7 separate regions of the Homo sapiens genome follow, and regions 2, 3, 4, 5, 6 and 7 are each linked to region 1. Evidence: promoter capture Hi-C in 16 types of primary human blood cells and fetal thymus (Javierre and others, 2016). All regions are on one chromosome and are shown on one strand. Each heading gives the region's core, a stretch centred on a gene start or on the middle of the fragment in contact. The rest is flanking DNA. Distances are from core to core; before and after follow the strand shown. Region 1 holds the start of ALG14-AS1 (ALG14 antisense RNA 1). Region 2 overlaps SLC44A3-AS1 (SLC44A3 antisense RNA 1). Region 3 overlaps SLC44A3 (solute carrier family 44 member 3). Region 4 overlaps SLC44A3 (solute carrier family 44 member 3). Region 5 overlaps SLC44A3 (solute carrier family 44 member 3). Region 6 has its middle 17 kb from the start of RWDD3. Region 7 overlaps SLC44A3 (solute carrier family 44 member 3).

The links. Contacts are between HindIII fragments. The CHiCAGO score rates a contact against its expected background, and 5 or more counts as called.
Region 2: a fragment that was not itself captured here is called in contact with the fragment with the promoter of ALG14-AS1 in region 1 in 2 of 17 cell types (erythroblasts and endothelial precursors); the score reaches 7.4 in erythroblasts.
Region 3: a contact is called between a fragment that was not itself captured here and the fragment with the promoter of ALG14-AS1 in region 1, in 14 of 17 cell types (total B cells, endothelial precursors, naive B cells and 11 more). The highest score is 10.1, in total B cells.
Region 4: a fragment that was not itself captured here is called in contact with the fragment with the promoter of ALG14-AS1 in region 1 in 17 of 17 cell types (naive CD4 T cells, total B cells, naive CD8 T cells and 14 more); the score reaches 13.5 in naive CD4 T cells.
Region 5: a contact is called between a fragment that was not itself captured here and the fragment with the promoter of ALG14-AS1 in region 1, in 13 of 17 cell types (total B cells, naive B cells, naive CD8 T cells and 10 more). The highest score is 11.9, in total B cells.
Region 6: a contact is called between a fragment that was not itself captured here and the fragment with the promoter of ALG14-AS1 in region 1, in 1 of 17 cell types (naive CD8 T cells). The highest score is 5.9, in naive CD8 T cells.
Region 7: a fragment that was not itself captured here is called in contact with the fragment with the promoter of ALG14-AS1 in region 1 in 2 of 17 cell types (total CD4 T cells and naive CD4 T cells); the score reaches 6.0 in total CD4 T cells.

What each region holds. Positions count from the first base shown.
Region 1 is chr1:95,060,171-95,062,983 of GRCh38, forward strand. ALG14-AS1 (ALG14 antisense RNA 1) reads left to right here and starts at 1,426. Exons shown (of 2, transcript NR_132786.1): 1 at 1,426-2,019. All of the region lies in intron 2 of ALG14 (ALG14 UDP-N-acetylglucosaminyltransferase subunit), which reads right to left. The HindIII fragment of the contact is 7,319 bases long and covers 1-1,570 here.
Region 2 is chr1:94,809,888-94,812,700 of GRCh38, forward strand. The region is part of intron 1 of SLC44A3-AS1 (SLC44A3 antisense RNA 1); the gene reads right to left. Among named protein-coding and RNA genes, the nearest start is that of SLC44A3-AS1, 8.9 kb to the right of the region's middle. The HindIII fragment of the contact is 1,911 bases long and covers 380-2,290 here.
Region 3 is chr1:94,826,329-94,829,141 of GRCh38, forward strand. It overlaps SLC44A3 (solute carrier family 44 member 3), which reads left to right. Exons shown (of 15, transcript NM_001114106.3): 4 at 1,179-1,315; 5 at 2,165-2,258. Among named protein-coding and RNA genes, the nearest start is that of SLC44A3, 7.4 kb to the left of the region's middle. The HindIII fragment of the contact is 932 bases long and covers 964-1,895 here.
Region 4 is chr1:94,847,815-94,850,627 of GRCh38, forward strand. The region is part of intron 9 of SLC44A3 (solute carrier family 44 member 3); the gene reads left to right. Among named protein-coding and RNA genes, the nearest start is that of SLC44A3, 29 kb to the left of the region's middle. The HindIII fragment of the contact is 5,359 bases long and covers 1-2,813 here.
Region 5 is chr1:94,866,449-94,869,261 of GRCh38, forward strand. It overlaps SLC44A3 (solute carrier family 44 member 3), which reads left to right. Exons shown (of 15, transcript NM_001114106.3): 12 at 883-969. Among named protein-coding and RNA genes, the nearest start is that of SLC44A3, 47 kb to the left of the region's middle. RefSeq lists an enhancer at 1-411. The HindIII fragment of the contact is 7,895 bases long and covers 1-2,813 here.
Region 6 is chr1:95,249,885-95,252,697 of GRCh38, forward strand. No RefSeq gene overlaps it. Among named protein-coding and RNA genes, the nearest start is that of RWDD3, 17 kb to the left of the region's middle. The HindIII fragment of the contact is 8,842 bases long and covers 1-2,813 here.
Region 7 is chr1:94,883,581-94,886,393 of GRCh38, forward strand. The region is part of intron 12 of SLC44A3 (solute carrier family 44 member 3); the gene reads left to right. Among named protein-coding and RNA genes, the nearest start is that of CNN3-DT, 41 kb to the right of the region's middle. RefSeq lists an enhancer at 687-1,573. The HindIII fragment of the contact is 5,313 bases long and covers 1-2,813 here.

The DNA of each region.
Region 1 (2,813 bases), core at 176-2,675:
CACACACGTGGTGGTACCCAGTGGTGGCCAGCAGAAATGTTCACGCTATCTCCCTCAACAGCTCATTTGCATCTCTGCAGAGCTCTTCCCAGCTTCAGATTCATGAGTAGAGGCTCTTTTAGGAATGGAGCAGAATTTTCTCTCTAACAGTGGCTGCATTGCCCCAGTAGGCGACTGTTAGTAAAAGGAAGTTGAACAGAGATGCTTAGTCCTACATTGCACTTCGAAAATACAAAATAATGGCACTATAAAAATCCAAAATCTGGCTGGGCACAGTGGCTCACGCCTGTAATCCCAGCACTTTGGAAGGCTGAGGTGGGCAGATCACGAGGTCAGGAGATCGAGACCATCCTGGCCAACATGGTGAAACCCTGTCTCTATTAAAAAAAAAAAAAAATAGCCAGACATGATAGTAGGCACCTGTACTCCCAGCTACTCAGGAGGCTGAGGCAGGAGAATCGCTTGAACCTGGGAGGTGGAGACTACAGTGAGCTGAGATCACACGACTGCACTCCAGCCTGGGTGACAAAGTGAGACTCTGTTTAAAAAAAAAACAACAAATAAATAAAAATAAAAATCCAAAATATTTTTATAGTTAAGACTATTAATGTGAAGCAAACCCAACTTACTTGGTTCTAAGTGTTGTGATGCACAGTATATAACTACTGTCCCCCTAAAATTCATGTCCACCTGGAATCTATGAATGTGACCTTATTTAGAAATAAGAGCACTGCAGATATGATCAAGTTAAGATGAGGTCCTTCTGAATTAGAGTGGGCCCTAAATCCAACCGGTATCCTCATAAAAAAGGCATGTGAAGACAGAGATACAGAAAAGGTCATATGATGGTGGAAGCCGAGATTAGAGTGACGTAGCTGCAAGCTAAGGAAGGCCAAGCATTGCTGGCCACCACTAGAAGCCAGGAGGAAGCAAGGAGGGATTCTTCTTCAGAACCTCCGGAGGGAGTATGGCCCCATGACACCTTGATTTCAGACTTCTACCCTTCAGAGCTATGAGAAAATACATTTCTGTTATTTTAAGCCACCCAGTTTATGGGTGGCAAAAACCCAGTTTTGTTACAGCAACCCTAAGAAACTAATACAGTATTGATTCCTAAAACAAAAACGAAATCACTTTGGCTTATTTTCCACAGAGGAAAAAAAGTACCACACATTTTGCTATAGCTGAATGATAGCAAGCAGATTTATATACCAATCTTGTTTGACGTGGATTTTTTGAGAATACATTTTAGTAGTATGTTAGTTGGGGATAAGGTTTACAAATGACCAAAAGTTAACACAAACAGCCTTGAGAGAGAGAGAGAGAGAGAGTGTGCGTATGTCACAAAGGTGGGAACAAAGGGAGTGGGGTAGGGTTCTAGGAGTGGGTCCTGATTTCCCAAGAAAAGAACCACCAATCCAGGACCAACACAGCTATAGCAGGGCCTCTTGAGCCACTGAAGGCAGCACCAGACACTGGCTTCTCCTCTCTTCCTGTACATTATCTTCATTCTTCTATCTATAGACTACCTTTATCTTCTAAGTGAAAACATGACTGTCAGCAGCTTTCAAGCTTTATCATTTACAGAGCTTGCCTGAAGACAGACTGATTCCATTCTCTAGGTCTCCAAGCCCAGAAAGCTCAGAGAAAGACTTCGATTGGTCTGAGTTAGGCCAGCTGTCCACCCCTGAACTATCCAGAGCAGCCCTGCAGCTGGGCCGTTCCCAGAGAGAGGGATGGATAAAGGCACTCACTCTACATAAGGAACAGCTCTAGTTTCCTTCCTTAATTAAGAAGTAGTTTCACTTAAAAAAAAAAATCTCTAAACACTGACTAAAATGCTATAATGAAGTGAGCAACCAGGGGTAAAGAAGTACTAATAATTTCAAAGGCAGACACAAGTATGATTTGGAGAAGAAACAGCAGTCATAGATAAATCAAATTATCAATAAACGTAACACATTGATAGAGAGCTTTAATGAAGAGCCAATAAGCACATGAACAGGATGCTTCGTGTATGTAAGTAAAAATAAAATAATTTTCACTATTGGAATTCAACGAAAAACTGCTTTCTCTATTTAAAAGAATAAAAAATATGCAAAAAATTAAGCAACCATTTTTTTTCCTTCAACTTTTAAGTTCCAGGGTATGTGTGCAGGATGTGCAGGTTTATTACACAGGTAAACGTGTGCCATGGTGGTTTGCTGCACAAATTAATCCATTACCTAGGTATTAAGTCCAGCATCCACTAACTATTCTTCCTGATGCTCTACCTCCCCCAACCCCTCCCTTCAACAGGCCCCAATGTGTGTTGTTCCCCCATATGTACCCATGTATTCTCATTGTTCAGCTCCTACTTATAAGTGAAAACGTGTAGTATTTAGTTTTCTGTTCCTGCATTAGTTTGCTGAGGATAACGGCTTCTGGCTCCATCCATATCCCTGCAAAGGACATGATCTTGTTCCTTTTTATTGCTGCATAGTATTTCATAGTGTATATGTACCACATTTTCTTTATCCATTCTATCATTGATGGGCATTTGGGTTGATTCCATGTCTTTGCTATTGTGAATAGTGCTGCAGTGAACATATGTGTGCATGTATCTTTACAACAGAATGATTTACATTCCTTTGGGTATATACCCAGCAATGGGATTGCTAGGTCAAGTGGTATTTCTGCCTCTAGATTTCTGAGGAATCGCCACACTATCTTCCACAATGGTTGAACTAATTTACATTCCCACCAATACTGTAAAAGCATTCCTTTTTCTCCACAACCTCACCAACATCTGTTGTTTCTGGACTTTTTAATAA
Region 2 (2,813 bases), core at 85-2,584, 250 kb before region 1:
AATAATAAGTATGTTTAAGTAGGCTGGGCGCGGTGGCTCATGCCTGTAATCCCAGCACTTTGGGAGGCCGAGGCGGGCAGATCACCTGAGGTCAGGAGTTTGAAACCAGTCTAGCCTACACAGCAAAACCCCGTCTCTACTAAGAATACAAAAATTAGCCGGGCGTGGTGGTGCGTGCCTGTAATCCCAGCTACTCAGGAGGCTGAAGCACAAGAATCACTTGAACCCAGGAGGCAGAGGTTGCAGTGAGCCAAGATCACACCACTGCATTCCAGCCTGAGTGACAGAGTGAGACTCCGTCTCAAAAAAAAAAAAAAAAAGGTATGTTTAAGTAAGGGGGTAAACAAAACTGAGAACAGTGGTTACCTCTGAGATTGAAAGCTTAGCAGGAGTTGTGTCCAAGGAGAAGCATTATGGGAATATTCTAGTTATTTAATTGGGTAGTGAGTTTAGGTGTGTTCATGTCATTATGCCTTATAACTTAGTATATACCCCATGTGTACTACAGTTTTTATTATGCAATGTTTGATATATGCAAAAGAATATATTAACATAAATAATGTAATGTGACATATATAATCTTTTGTAACTAAAAAATATTTTTTAACCAAACTGAAAGTCCCTCAGGGCTAAAGGAGAGACTGTGTTCCAAGGAACACATTTAAGAAGGGAGCCTGGTGGCTATACTGTTCCCTTGCCTCACCTCCCCATAAGAATTTTCCTGCTGGGGCTGGGCATGGTGGCTCACACCTGTAATCCCAGCACTTTGGGAGGCCAAGGCAGGTGGATTATCTGAGGTCAGGAGTTCGAGACCAGCCTGGCCAACATGACAAAACCCCATCTCTACTAAAAATACAAAAATTAGCCAGATGTGGTGGAGCATGCCTGTAATCCCAGCTACTTGGGAGGCTGAGGCAGGAGAAATAGTTGAACCTGGGAGGCGGAAGTTGCAGTAAGCTGAGATCGTGCCATTGCACTCCAGCCTGGGCAACGGAACGAAACTTCATCTCAAAAAAAAAAAAAAAAAGTATTTTCCTGCTGGAATCTTGCTGCCCCCACCAAGCCTACCCTTGCTCCCTGCTCTTCAGAGGTACAAGGGGAACACAAGCCCCTCTCCTTCCAGTCCTTTGAGCACAACCAAGACAGGGTAGCATTTTCTAAAAGCTGTTCTACAAAGTGGGAGCAAATGAGAAAGATACAATCACAGAAAGGCAAACGGCTTCTTGGTGTGGCATGCTGGGCCCTAACGGCTGAGTTAGTTCTGCCCTCAGAAGTATACCTTCTCTCCCTCCCTCCTTCTCCCCCTTATTTTCATCCTCCAGTGATACTACATGGCTGGGGGTCCCCTGCTGCTCCATGCCCCTAGCCCTTTAGCCATGCTCTCTCTTCTGCCTGGGAAGCCCTCCCCACCTTTCTCTATCTTGCCATTTCTTGTTCATCTTGCACCATTCAACTCAGGCCCCCTCTCCCAGGAAGGCTTCTTGGAACCCTGGGACTGGGCAAAGAACCCGCATCAGCCTGCCTCATCATTAACCCTCAACTGAGCTTGACCTCGCTGGAGTGGGCAAATATTCCTTCTTGGTGTTCGTGCCCCTTGAGTTGGCCCAAGTCCTGGCACAAAGCAAGTGCTGAGTCAATCCCTGTTGAATAAAGATAGGCTAAAATTAATCAAGGTTCCCCCAGAGACCAGATTTCTAATCCAAAGATTTCAAGGAGAAAAGAAGGTCTTCTGAGGCTGAAACTTCCTCATCCTGAAATGACCAGGATCCAGATTTAAAGAGCTGGGAGTCCTTTGCACACACACCTTGCTTGGTTTCCTTCCCCCCACCTCCCTCCCTGTCTCAGCCAAGTGCTCCCCAGTGCCTCCTTATCTATCCAGTATATCTTGGGCCATTTCTGGACCAAGTACAAAGACCCAAGACCTCTTGCATCCTTCATCTCATCTCTGGCTTCCAGTCTGAGGTACAAGCCCCCATGGCTGACAGGAAAGGCAAGATGGGGAAGGATCTGGTCCTTCTGAGTCAGTGATCCTGCCCGCACTGGAGCCTCTGATAACTGACTCTTGTAAGGTGAGCCCCTTCTTAGTCTGGGACGAGAAATTGCTCCATCAGAGTCTAACATCATGGTATTTTATCCAGAGGGCATCAGGCCCAAAGCATGGTGGGAACTCAGCCACAGGAGCTGATGAGGAGGGTAAGGAAGCCTGGGAAAAGTGGGATGAAGGGTGGGAAGTTCTGGCCTTTCTTAGTGCTGGCCCCAAAGTACAGTGTCAATAAGATTCACAGGCTGAAGCTTAGGTCAAGCTTCAGTCTGCATCTGGGAGACCTGCCCCAAAGAGGTAATAGTCAGACACTTGAAAGCAAAGCAGGCAACCTGAGTGGCCCTAACTGCATCTTTGTGTGACCAGATTGGGACAGAAGCAAGATCTCAACATCTTCAGAGAGCACCTAGAAGTTTTAGAAAAAGGTGCCAAAGGCCTTTGGAAGAGATGCAGATTAGAATATAAGACAAACATGAAAATCATGAGAAAGTTAGGAACAGATGGGCAGGAGGGGAATGTGAGGTATAGGATGAAGAAACACACAGAGAAGAGGAAAAACTGTTAAGGCCAAAGTGCTACAGAAGCTCCAGGGGCCTGCATGGGGTTGGAGTGAAGAGATTGAGGGTGGGAAACTGTGAGAGCTTGGCACCTTAGCTGAGCCAATAGATCTGGAGATACAATGATCCTAAGGCTAAGTAATGATGTTGCCTCAGTGAGGAATAGAGAGGGTCAGGCATGAGTGCCCAAGCTGTGGGGGGTAGAGGGGAGTAAA
Region 3 (2,813 bases), core at 180-2,679, 230 kb before region 1:
GAATGTACTAATGTCACTGTACACTTAGAAAGATTCAGATGGGGCTGGTGCAGTGGCTCATGCCTGTAATCCCAACAGTTTGGAAGGCCAAGGCGGGCAGATCCACAGGGTCAGGAGTTCAAGACCAGCCTGGCCAACATGGTGAAACCCTGTCTCTACTAGAAATACAAAAATTAGCCAGGTGTGGTGGCAGGCACCAGTAGTCCCAGCTACTCAGGAGGCTGATGCAGGAGAATCACTTGAACCTGGGAGGCAGAGGTGGCAGTGTCATTGCACTCCAGCCTGGGTGACAGAGCGAGACTCTGTCTCAAAAAAAAAAAAAAAGAAAGATTCAGATGGTAAATTTTATGTATATTTTAACACAATTTTTAAACTTCTTCAAAAATATGTATATCACACACCCAGGAAATCTGTTCCTCATCTCCTGTTGCACCACCTTTCTCCCATCCCCAACAGGAGGGAAAAAAACCTTCTGGGACCCCTTCTCAAGGTCTCTCCCATAAAGGGCAGCCTACGGGGTCTTCCTCTGCCATTCCTGGGGTCTTGGAGCCTGGATAAGTGGTAGGCAAGGGTTTGGAAGCTGTAGCTGCTAGCGCATAACCTGCTGATGGCAACACCAGTTTCATTCTTGTCCCCCCTCTGCCCTGCCCCTGGGGAGCTGCAGGAGGGTTCTCCTGAGTGTCCTGGCTCTCAACCTGGGAGAAGGGGGAAAAGACAAGCCTTTGGTTCCCAGCCTTGGCCCCCTCCTTTCCACTTCTCACTTCCCTGTGTTCAGTTATTCTCTGAAGCATATTTGAACACTCTTGGGTACAAATGTGTTCTCCGTGGAGTCCATTGAATAGTTTGTGCATTGGCCTGATCTAGCAATCAATGGACAGTTTAACCAATTGCTTCTTTTCCTCAGATTTTCTCAGGTAACTCCCTAGTGCTATCCCCTAGACAACACTAAATCTGGAGAAATAAAGCTTTGTTAATGTTTTTGGATAGTTTCCAAGCTGCACAGCTTCATGGATGACCACCAGTAGGCATCATAAATGTTCAATTATGCTGAAACAATTATGAAAGTGTGCCTGGGTGATCCCTGCATTTGATAGCATGTGGATATTTTTTAAGGCCCACAATTAAGACCAGTGAGAAGCAATGCTCTAACACATTCTTCTGTTTCATCTATTTCCTAGACACGTGTTCTTTATGAATTCCTGCAACCTGGAAGTCAAAGGTACGCAGCTCAACCGCATGGCCCTCTGTGTATCCAACTGCCCTGAAGAGCAGCTTGACTCCCTGGAAGAGGTCCAGTTCTTTGCAAACACCAGTGGTAGGCACTAAGGCCTGGTTTGTTCTTTTCCCCATGATGGGGTAAGCTGTGGGGACCTAGATGAGATCATTTACCCTGACTCTGCTTTCTCTGGAAAGCTGGAAGTTTTACTTCCTTGTGGGTGCCTCTTTTTGTGTGGAAAAGGCCGTAAGCATTTTCTCTTGAGCTTGTTCAGGTTATTTTTTTTCTATCTGGATTTATCTGAAGCCCTAGCTATTCCGTGTATGCTCCCTGCCACTGCAGGGAATGGTCATCCACAGAGAGAGAGAGGAGACAGCCCACATTTAAGACCCAAAGGCGGTGTCAGAAGGAAGGCAGAGAGCTCCATGCACGTGGGCACATCCGGTCCTAGAGATGTACGTGCAGGCTGCGCGTAGAATTGCTGACAAATTGGTCTTTTCATGAGATTTTTGGGGCCAATAGATACTTCCACTGAGCAGTGGGATGTCACAAGTTGTACCAGAAGCACTTGTATAACTAAAATACCTTGTACTGGGTCCACTGTTTAGAATTTTATCTGTCTGAGAAATGGTTTGCCAGATTTTTAAAAATTATTTGCAAAGCCAGGTTTAAACTATCAAGCTTCTACAAGAAATTGTTTTCAAATATGCTTCAGATTATTTTAGGACCAATCATATAACTTTTAGTTTTGAATTTGGGGTTTTGAAGAGAAAGTAAGGAAGAGAGGCCCTCACTAGACCTCAGATTGTATGCCTATTACTTTTGTGTTTCTGTCACCCATAGACCTTGTAGTTGATTCTTTCTCCTTTCTGGTTTGGTAACATGGCTGTGGTTTCCTTACTGACTCACCTGGAAAGAAGGTATAATGTCTGTGTGTTCTGCTTCCAGGGTCCTTCCTGTGTGTTTATAGTTTGAATTCCTTCAACTATACCCACAGTCCAAAAGCAGACTCACTGTGTCCCAGGCTACCAGTTCCTCCAAGGTAAAAGCTTCCATACTTTTTCCTTAACTCTAAACAAAAGTTACTGGGTACTTGGTGTGCATCTGTTACTCTTCTAGGCATTGTGGGAAGGAGATATCAGAAGAGCCCCTGCCTGCAGGGAGCTTACAGTCTACGGAGGCCAGCGATAAAAACATGGAGGGACTATTTGCAGTATGCCTATGGACAGTGGATTAGAAATCAGGCTAAATAAGGAGAAAACTCAGCAAGCAATAAAAATACACGTAGTCTTCAAAGAACACTAGAGCTAGCAAGAAGTAACTTATGAATTATTACTAACGGGGTGATTTTATAAATTAGTGTGTATTTTTTTCTACTCCAATTATTTATTGCAAAGTAGAAATCATTTACTTTGGCCGGGCATGGTGGCTCACACCTGCAATCCCAGCATTTTGGGAGACTGAGCCAGGCGGATCACGAGGTCAGGAGATGGAGACCATCCTGGCCAACGTGGTGAATCCCCATCTCTAAATATACAAAAATATATACTATTTTTTTGTATACTAAAAATATACTAAAAATACAAAAATTAGCCGG
Region 4 (2,813 bases), core at 203-2,702, 210 kb before region 1:
GAGGTCATACAGCTGGGAGGCATGACGTGCTGTGACTCTAGAGCTTTGGAATGGAGCCTGTGCTCTTTCCACTACCTTACACCTCCCTTGCATCTGGGATCCAAAGCTAGGAAATAAAAATAGGCCTCTTTAGGCCGGGTGCAGTGGCTCACGCCTGTAATCCCAGCACTTTGGGAGGCCAAGGCGGGCGGATCATGAGGTCATGAGATCGAGACCATCCTGGCTAACACGGTGAAACCCCGTCTCTACTAAAAATACAGAAAACTTAGCCGGGCGTGGTGGCGGGCGCCTATAGTCCCAGCTACTCGGGAGGCTGAGGCAGGAGAATAGCATGAACCCGGGAGGCGGAGGGTGCAGTGAGCTGAGACCACACCACTGCACTCCAGCATGGGCCACAGAGTGAGACTCTGTCTCAAAAAAAAAAAAAAATAGGCCTCTTCAAGTTTGCTCAGAATGAAGCTGTATCAGGGACCACAGCAGTTGGCTGGTGGATGTGGGCTGTGCCCATAATGTGTCTGGGGCTGGAGGTTGACAGCTAGAGCCAGCTGGGGATGAGGTGTGATGGAGGTGGTGGCAGTGGCCCTGGGCAGCAGCACTGTAGGGCTTGAACCCTAGCCTCTAGAGAATCATCAGAGAAACAGTGAGGTCTTAGGAAATATGGCTCAGGACCAGTGAAGGACCCTCCTCTTCCCACCTCCTTAGGTGCAGCTGGCCCAGCCAGGGGGCCCCTTGTTGGCTGTGAATCTGGATAAGGGGAACTGTGTCTGTGGCTAGACCCCATGATGTTTTGGAGCAGGGATGGTTTTAATTTAATTCAGAAGTATTTGGTGGGCACTGTGGGGATGAGGCGCTGAGCACGGCACTAGGGAGAGGTAGGGAACAGGATTGAGGTCGACTCTCTGCCCTCAGTACTTATAGTCAAGCAGGATGGTCCAACAATGAAACGTGTGATCGCAGTGAAGATTGATGGATGTGATGATCAGAGAAATCTGGGGAGCTATGGGAACACCAGAACAAGGCCGTAACCCATGCTGTGAGTCAGGGAGGGCTTCTTAGAGGGCAGGCTGGAAATCGCCAGGTCAGAAAATACAGAAAGAGGCAAAGGGGGATGCAGCAGAAGTCAAGGCAGCACAAGGAGAGGACCTGGCCACAGAGGTCAAGGGAAGAGCCCAGGCCAGTGAAGTCAGAAAGGAGCAAGCCCCAAGGCTGACTTGGGCATGAACTGCCAGCCTGTGCCCCTTAACTGCCAGCCTGTGCCCCTGACTAGGTCTAGGTTGGGCCCAGGGCTTAGTAGCCTCCACTGCAAGAGAGACCTGGAGGTTATTCTTCAGGGCTGAAGGTAGCGTGTCATTCTGCAGCCACCTCTCAGGATCACACAGTGAAGTGTGACGATTCACTGTTAGTGCAAGCAGCAAACAGCGAGAACAGTAGAGGGGCCAGAAAGGAAACTGGGTGCCCCGGACCTATGGGAGGCATCTATGAGCAGGTCGATTTTAGGCTTCTCAGGAGAGAAGGTGCTACGCAGAGCCACCACCCCCCTTCCCCACCCCGCTGGGGTCAGGCATCATAGAAACCAAATCACCCGTCCCCTCCTTCCACCTGCCTGTGGCCGACCCAGGTGCACAGGGTCCCCTTTGTTCTCAGAGGCCTTTTCACCAGTGCCAGAGAGCCTGGCTCTGCGGCTGGGCAGATCAGCAGCTGAATCACTTTTTGATCTTCAGAAGATGCCCCAGCTAACACTTGAGAGGGACTCTGAGCCGCTTTCACCTCTTATGAAGAGGCGCCAGGTGATCGGGTGGCGAGCCCGCTGCACAGTGCCCGATTGTCTCATTCCACGTCCCACAGGCAGCTTCAGCGGGGACAGACACACTCTTCAGTTAGCGCCCAGTTTTGTGTGTGGGCGTCCTCAGTACATAAATAGTTGTTTGTTTGTTTTTGTGTTTTGTTTTTTGTTGGTTTTTGTTTGTTTGTTTTTCTTGAGACAGGGCCTCAATCTGTTGCTCAGACTCAAGTGTAGCATCAACCTCCCGGGCTCAAGCGATCCTCCCATCTCAGCCTCCCCAGTAGCTGGGGCTGCACATGCCACTATGCCTAGCTAATTTTTGTATTTTTTTGTAGAGACAGGATTTTGCCGTGTTGCCCAGGTTGGTCTAGAAATCCTGGGCTCAAGCAATCCACCTGCTTTGGCCTCCCAAGGTTTTGGGATTATAGGCGTGAGCCACCCAAATAGTTGTGTCAGATGGTTGAATGAATACTATTTTTTACTGCATTAAAAAAAATAGGAGTGAACTTGGGTTGATCATTTTTGCCCAGATGGGCTATTTTTCTAATGACTGTTAATCATTCTTTTGACTAGTTGACAAATTCTGACTTGTTTGGGGATTTTTTTTCAGCAGGTCATATCAAGCCCCCATCTTGCACCACCCAACAATGACATTTAGTAGTCCATTGGGATTTGTCTGGTACCAGCAATAAGACAGTAATTACTAAAATCCAATAGGAAAAAGTGAAAACTGTGGTAACCTTGGTAATCTGGTAGGTTGGAAAGAGCTCAGATGACCTGGTCACCTCCAGTGTTCATTAAGGTGGTCTGGAAGCTCCAGAGTCTGTACAATAGAAGAGAACCATATTGGATTTTGGCAGGGAGTGGACTTCCCGCGAGGTCTGTGCTGCAGTTAGAAGATTTAATCACAGGACTGCACACAGCATACACCGTGTACTTGGGATACACAAAGGGGTGAGCTTGGAAAGGAGGCAGCAGGGTCAGACAGAGAGTTTTCCATAGGTTTCCCATCAAATGACCTGGAACCCAG
Region 5 (2,813 bases), core at 179-2,678, 190 kb before region 1:
TTCTTAGGTTAAAAAAAAATTTCTTCCTCAGCAGCCTTACTGCCCCACACTGTGTCTACAATTTAAATGTCTCACACAGCCACTGTGTGATTTTCCCTAGTTAAATAGGCTCATTCACCAACACAGCCAGGCTGAAAAGTGTCCAGATCAAGTTTCATCCAATTGAATTCACATTGGGATGAGAAAATGTCCATATAAGGCTGAGTTATTCCTGGGGTCCTCATCCTAGGCTATTTCAGGATTGTTTTCAGGGATGTGTTCACTCTGGAGAGTGGGTAGGATGCCTCCGAGCACCCTTCCCCCAAGAGGTTCATTAAAGTATTCATTCTTAAGCTATGCACAAGTTCAAGTTATATTTCAAAGGAGTAATTTATCCCTCGAAATTTAGTCCTGAAAAAAATCTCACTACAGGATTTATTTCCTCCAGAGTTAAACTTGATTCTTTATTTATGTGGGCACATAACTAGTACCTACAGTGTATTATTTGTTTTTTTTGTTTCTGGGATGTGGATTTTTCGTGAATATAAACTTTGGTTTGAAAAAGCAAAGTGTACCATTTCAGACACTTAAGGGCAGATGAAGGGGGAAGAGAGGTTTTTTTTTTTACTGGAACCAGAAGGCCTGCTTTTGTTTTGCTGTTCAGTATGGACTAACCTCCCTAATAGCACCCCTAACACGTAAGTCCACAAGACAGAAATGTTGCTCCTCAGTAATACTAGAACCATAATTAGTAGTAGTAGTATGCACACAATAGAACTTCTCCCACGCCACCAGTGTTTCCCCAGGTGCATAAGTAAAAACTGTGTTTCCTCAGAAACTGCCTGCTTTTCTTCTTTCCTGTGTTGTTTTTGACTCTGTTCCTTTGTTCTCAACCTGATCCAGCAGCATGGTGCATTGTCCAGGTACCTGTTCCGATGCTGCTACTGCTGTTTCTGGTGTCTTGACAAATACCTGCTCCATCTCAACCAGGTACGTCTCTACCTCTTGCCTCAGGAACACACAGAAGGGTCCAAAGGTGGGCTTCATCTCTTAGGTCAAGGTTTGGCAAATTCTTCTCTAAGGGGCTAAATTGTGTAAACATTTTAGGCTTTCAGACCAGTCTCTCTGTCACAACCACTCAATTCTGCCATCATGGCAGGAAAGCAGCCATAGGTAAAATGTCAATGGGATGGATGTGGCTATGTTCTAATGAACCTTAACTTATCAACACTGAAATTTGAATTTCATATGATTTTTACATGTCAAGAAATTTTCTTTTTTTGATTTTGATTTTTTCTCAACCATTGTAAAATTGTAAAAATTGTTCTTAGCTCCTGCCAGAGAAAAGTGGGCGGTGTGATGGAGCTAGCTCCTGAGCTGTAGTTTGCATACCCTACCCTAGAACCATAGGCCTTTAAAGCCATGCTTCAAATTCTAAAAGAAAGTTTTTCTCTTTTCAGAAATAAAGAGGGAAGGGAGTATTTAGAAACCCTAAGCATAATGAATATATATCAACTAAGAGCTAATTTTCAGTGTCTTCTCTAAGAACTATAATTTTCCTGAACTAGGAAAAGAATTGCCTCCCTAATTTTCATAGATTTCACCAGTCTTTCCTTTTCAAGCTGTAAATATGCCTTTAAAATTATAAAAATTATATCTTGCAATTGTTTGGATTTCAGATTTTTTTCCTTTCCTGAATTTTTCAAATTGATGGAAATTTAAATATGTTGTATTTCTCTATAGAGCATTTAGGAGATTTTAATAGTCCTTAGTCAAATTTACACAAAGCAGTATTTTTGTAAGTTAGCAAACTGTTTTATAATTTAAATGTTCACAGAAATCTCACTTAGAAAAGTATTTCTTATAATTGCCCCCTCCCAAAGAAATGTACCTTTAGAAGTAAAGGGACTAATTAGACCACCTATGTTTAATGTCTTTTAAGGGGTATTTAGAATACTTTTCATTATTCAGGGAAAAATGTAGCCTTCTTATAGTAAGGTCTATTTTTAGGCTCTTAAACTTGGAGAACATTTTAGAGTATATTTAGTTTTCATTTGGATTGCTATAAGCCAGCATGTATAAAACACAATCAAATACCATAGGACCTTTCAGAATGGGGGGGAACATATAACAAGTCAGTCCAAACCGTTTGAATACATTTGTCGTGGTGTAAGATGTTATAGCTATTGTGTATATATCCAGACGGCAACTTCATAAATATTTTGAGATGCATTGCAAAAATGTATTAACTATGATAAAATATATATGCATGAAAAATAAAGTCTAAGAAACATATAGATAGACTAGAAAGACAAAAGCAATGAATGGGACCATTGATATACAAATATGTTGGCCATATGGCCCTACAAGGCCCGAGGGTTGACCTGTTATCCCCTCTCACTGTACTACGGGAATTCAGGTACTTTCCGCATCCCTCTTTCACTCATGGTTTTCATACTGGCCCCTGGAAGCCTAGAGGCTCCTGTGGACACTGTGGGGACCACCACATTAGGAGGGCAGAGAAATGGCTGAGGTGGAGGAAGGGTGGGCCCTGGCCCCATATACCATGCCTATACTGCCTGGCCTTGCGGCCTGAGCAGCTCCACTTTATGTGGTTTAGGGGTGGGAGTGTGGGAGTGTACTGAAGGTTTCATTTGAGGACAGGTCTCTGCTGCTGAAACACATTTGAAAACCTCTGGTCCCATTTTCACATTTGTTTCCTCTGCCCTGTTATCCTGAGATACGTATTTTCCTGCCTTCTGAACTTTCACCACCTTAATTAATCCAGGACCATTTCCCTTGGTAATTCAAAATGTTTCCAAACTCATAAGTGA
Region 6 (2,813 bases), core at 120-2,619, 190 kb after region 1:
TATCTGCTATTGCACTATTGGAGACGTTGTAATAGCCTATATCTGCTATTGCACTATTGGAGACGTTGTAATAGCCTATATCTGCTATTGCACTATTGGAGTCTGCTCAAATGCTGCCTAGACCAGAGCTAAAATTGCTAATAGGCACTGTCTCTGGTCCATTTGAATCTGGAATCACTCCACCCCTGTTGCTGCTATACCAACTGCCAACAAGGATCACAGTGCTATCTGTGCTACCTTCTGATCTCCCAGAAGTGCCTTCTATTGACAAGCCTAACAGGAACCAAGCTGGCAAGGAAGTCTGGGGAAAGTAGATTGCAGAATTTCAGCCTCAGGAGAACAGAGCTGACTATAGAAGGATGACTGTGTGTGAAATGGGGAGAGGGCTGAGTGCCCACAGAAAATAACCAACCAGGACACTTATTTTCAGCTATTAAGCATCCACACACACATCCTTCTACCCATATTTAAACTTCTATGCAGCAATAACAGTTTTATGCTTCTGTCTTTGTAGATTTAACTCTGTTCTTTATGAAACTCACCATTCCCTCAGAAAGGGGAGAAACAGCCCCACCAGTTACTACTGTTCTTATTGGTGTTAATTCTTCTAGTTTAGTCACAATCCCACCTAGATATTCTGTAGCTTGAAGATTAAACTGTAAAGTTCCCTATCATTAGTATTAGTGGCATTCCTTGTACTCCTACGGCTTGAGAGGGGGAAGGAAAAAAATAGTTACTATATACAAAGATATTTAGAACAAGCAATGAAGCACATTTACATAACTACTTTGGTACTTGTTTCTGACTGGTCATGAAGCTGTAGTTGATATTTGTAACTTCTTCCTCTACTTAATTTTTCATTGCTCCTGGCCAGCACTTCAGCTGGCAAGTGTTCTTTACCTAGTAGGGTAGCTGAATCTTCATTCTGGATGGGTCTGAGTCTTTAGTAGTTGGGGTGCTTATTAATTTTCACTATTAAATAAGTCTTAAGAGGCAATCCAGAGATTCCCCTGGGGTCCTTGACCTCATTGTGTAGCAGCAACCCAATATCCGTAATAATAATCTAGTTCAGTCACCCCAGCCAATACAGGGATCTCTTTCTTTGTTTTTTAGTTTAGTGTGATAAGAAACCTAATATATCTAGGCATCAGTCTCAATTTTCAATTCATTTGAACCATTTTATGTGCCTTGGTAGAAGAATTCTTTCCTTGTGAACTAAGACCTGTAAACTAGCATAGTCCAAGTTTACAGGGATGAGAATTAGAAATTCTGTGAGAGGGTTATTAAGTATACTACTGAGAGGAATCAGTCCTATTTTTATCCCTTGATTCCTGGACCCATGTATTCTGGCAATGGGAGAAATACAACTATGCTGATCACTGGTTCAAACTATATGCTACATTTTGTATAATAGCACTGAAGTCTCTCAGGGGCTTGTCTCCCACCAGGACTAATAACTGAGTTTTTTTTTTTTTTTTTAGACAGTCTCGCTTGCCACCCAGGCTGGAGTGCAGTGGTGCGATCTCAGCTCACTGCAACCTCCGCTTCCTGGGTTCAAGTGATTCTCATGCCTCAGCCTCCTGAGTAGCTGGGATTACAGATGCATGTCACCATACCCAGCTATTTTTTTGTATTTTTAGTAGAGATGGGGTTTCACTATGTTGTTCAGGCTGGTCTTGAACTCCTGACCTCAAGTGATCTGCCTGCCTCAGCCTCCCAAAGTGCTGTGATTATAGACGTGAGCCACCACACCCAGCATAACTGTCTTAACAGGTCATTATATTATTCTACCAAGCCAGCCACTTCTGGATGATTAGGTACATGGAAAGTCCTATGAATTTCATCCATTGCTACATTTATTTTGTTGTGAAATGAGTTTCTGATTCAGAAGTTATATTGTGAGGGATATCATGTCTATAGGATCATAGTTGGTTGTATTATAGGAAGGGACTTCAGATTCATATCCAGAAGTATCAGTTTAGTAAGGACAATTTGCTGGCCCTTCCATTAGGGAAGGGGTCCAATGTAATTAATCAGCCACCAGGTAGCTGGTGTTTTTTTAGGAGGGGAGGCCTTTTTCGTGGCTTACTATGGGTCTTTGTTTTTAGCAGGTTAGGTACTCAGCAGGTTAGCAAGATCACCCTTGGTGAGGGGAATTTCATGTTGTTGAATCCATGAATAACCTCCGTCCCTGCTGCCGTATTTACTTTGTACCTGAGCCCACTAAGCAAGCACTGGGGTGCTAGGGAAAGAGGCTGACTAACATCCACTGGAGGATTCAACTCATCTATTTGATTAATGGAGGCCTTCTCTGCGGTGGTTGCCCTTTGAAAAACATCACATGGGACACAAATATCCTCACATTTTGTGCTCAGCCTGAGAACTCCATTCCTATACCTCTGTCCCAGATCTCCTTTTCATTAGTCCTTTTATTTTGTTCTTCAAAGTCTGTGACCTCCTGGTCAACCTGTTAGCTGCTGCTCATGAAATACTGTAAATCTATACCTCAGGGCATCTCTTTACCTAGAGAAGGTACACAATCAGAATTACTGCTCAAAGTTCTACCCACTGCGTAAATTTCTCTTGATTTCTATCTTTCAGAGACACTCCACATTTGAGTCAAAATTGCTAAAGTGAAGAATATTGTGAAGAACCACCCATAAATCAGGCCTGAAATATTTCTTCCGTGGTTACCAAGTTATCGGAACTCCCCACAAGATCCTCAGTGTGGACTGAGAAAGAGGAAGCTGTGCAGAAGGACTAGTTACTATAGATAACTGAGCCACTTGAGCATGCAGCTTAGTTGTACCTTT
Region 7 (2,813 bases), core at 225-2,724, 180 kb before region 1:
CTGACAAAGTCAGAATAATGAAACTCACTAAAATCAGGATGCAGGAGAAGGCGTGAGAGGACTCAACTTTCTTATCTACACTGCCTAAACTTAAAACCCTATGTTAAAAAAACAATAAGTACTCTAACTTCCTAATGTTTCAGAAGACTTTTTTAAAACCTACGTCTTGTGTGTGAAGGTGCAATTTGTCTGAAATTTGGGTATCCCTTCAGTGTCAGTTTAGTTTCATTTTCGTTTGTTGAAGTCAAATGAGCATTTGTCCTTTTATTTAAAATACCATGGAGAGTATGAGTTCATTATCGTAGCGCATGCTCAGTGTATCCAGCCTGCCTTTCTTCCTCTGTGTATATTCACAGAGGGGTGCTGGGGTGAAGGCCAAGCAATGTTAGCAGTGGTTATTTCTAAGGGGTGGGATCACAGTGGCCTTCTTGCTTCTTTGTCTCTGTGTTGTTTGATTTTTTTAAGATTAACATGGAAATAATAAAGCCATTCTAAAAATTAAGCAAAAAGAAAAGTTTTAAAAGAGCAAACAAAATAGCACGACCCTGTTCGTGGCTTCATAGGCAGCTCTCATGTTTGTCCTTCCTTCTTCCACCCCACCTCCCACCTGGCTGCAGCCCCAGGGGACTGGCTGCTTTCCCTCCTCACCATCTCATTGGATGTTTGTTTGCATCCTGGTGACCGGTGCATTCCTGAAGGGATCTGAACGGTGAATGCAGGGCCCTGGAAGGCCCAGAGGCTGTGCACTGCCTCACTCCACATGTGTTTGTGATAAAAACAGGGCTCAAGATGAAACTGGTCTGGGACGGTTCCTGCCAGTTTTACTGTAGGTCCAAGGAAGGCCCCTGGATGTATGGGGATGTATCTGGACTCGGATTTCACTGTATTTTTTTTCAGTTCTGAGGAAAGTATGAATGCCAGTGTTATTTATTCACTGTTCAGTTTCTCAAGTTTGTTTTAGTAGTTCTTGCTTTGAGAATAAATATCGGAACTCTGTGAGGAAGGCATTCCAGAAATAAAGCTGGCTATTCATGGCATGGTTTTTGGCAAATACCTTCCCTCCACTACGGAGGGAAACTCTGTTTACCTTTTTGAAGAGTCGGCAGAAACCCAGGTTCACAGTTCTGCCACCAAAAGAAGAAAGCAGTTCAGTTCAGTGAGAGGACAGACTCAGCATGATGGACAAAAGGCTGAGCTGTGCTGGCTAAGCGTTTGATTTCAGGAGTAAAAAAACGCTCTTTCTATGTTAAAGCTGCAATTAACGTTCTTGGATAGCTCTCACAGTAACTTAAATAGGTAATCTAGATTTTCTCTTACCTAAAAGGACACTTAAATCTCATTTTCTTCAATAATTACAATTTTCTATAAAATGAGAATAATACCGGCCAGGCGCAGTGGCTCACGCCTATAATCCCAACACTTTGGGAGCCCGAGGCAGGCAGATCACATGAGGTCAGGAGTTTGAGACCAGCCTGGCCAACATGGTGAAACCCTGTCTCTACTAAAAATACAAAAATTAGCCAGGCGTGGTGGGTGCCTGTTGTCCCAATTACTCAGGAGGCTGAGGCAGCAGAATCAATTGACCACAGGAATACAATCGCGCCATTGCACTTTAGCCTGGGCGACAGAGTGAGACTCCCTCTCAAAAAAAAAAAAAAAAAAAGAGGCAGCAGGGAATAATACCACCCATGGTGATTATTTCACTGAGTTGTGGTGAAAACAGATGAGATCTAATGAGACGATGATCCGAGGGTGACTGGCCACGAAGCACAAACATAAAGCATCATGGAACATTGGAGTTGGTGGAAGTCTTTTCCAAGCAGCAAAGTGAGGGCCCTTGAGAAGTGACGTGATTTGGTGGAAGCCGTTCCGCAAGTCTTTGGAGGCAACATGACTGGAATCCAGCCTCTTTCCACTAAGCCATCCTGCCACATCCTCAGCTGTTTTCAATGGTGCATCTCATGAGAACACCACTTTGTTATTTTGAACTTTCCAGGAGAAAAAGCACAAAGTACAGCTCAAAGTAAAGTTTTCCAGCAGATGGGCCTGAACGAGTTAGAGGTCCACTTCATGGAAGATGGACGCAACATCTATGACACGCGTGGAACCGGGGGCACACTACTTTACCTCTCTGTGCTTTAGTTTCCTTAACTACCTCATCGGGTTGGAGTTAAGAGGACTAAATGAGTGAATGTGTTCGGGGAGAGGTAGCATAGAGCCTGGCACATAGTACATGCAAGATTAATGCCATTATTATTTATTATTAGCGTTATTATTTATTTACACACAGAAGTTGCACACCTGCCTACTGACTGGAAAAGAAAAAGGCCACAGATGGAAATTAGAAAGTTGTAGCTATCATTAGGTCTGTGCCAAGGCATTTGGGATATATCACTAAGGCATCCACCGAGGTGGGGGTGGAGGGGAGCCAGAGTGCCTGGAGGAGTTACTATTCCTAATACTCCTATTTTCTCCCAAGAAGAACTCACGGTCTTTGGGCCTAGCCCCTGGCTTATGACTGCTGGCGGGTCGGTGTGCTCAATGGCTGCATGGCCACCACAGCATTTCCACCCAACTCCAGCAGAGCCCCGTAGGCATTGTGGAGGTGCTTGGGGAGTCTCCTAGGCTTGAATAGGAATGAGCCTTGGAAGGTGCAGAGCTTCGTGGCTCAGCAGAAGATGGTGATGAGGGAGATCTGACCTGAACTTCCCCAGGGCAGCCTGGGAGAGCTTCCAGAGGCACAGGCTGAAAATCGTGAGTCCTCCTGAAACTTCCTTTCACTGCTCTTGCTCCACACTCTGCATCAGCCCCAC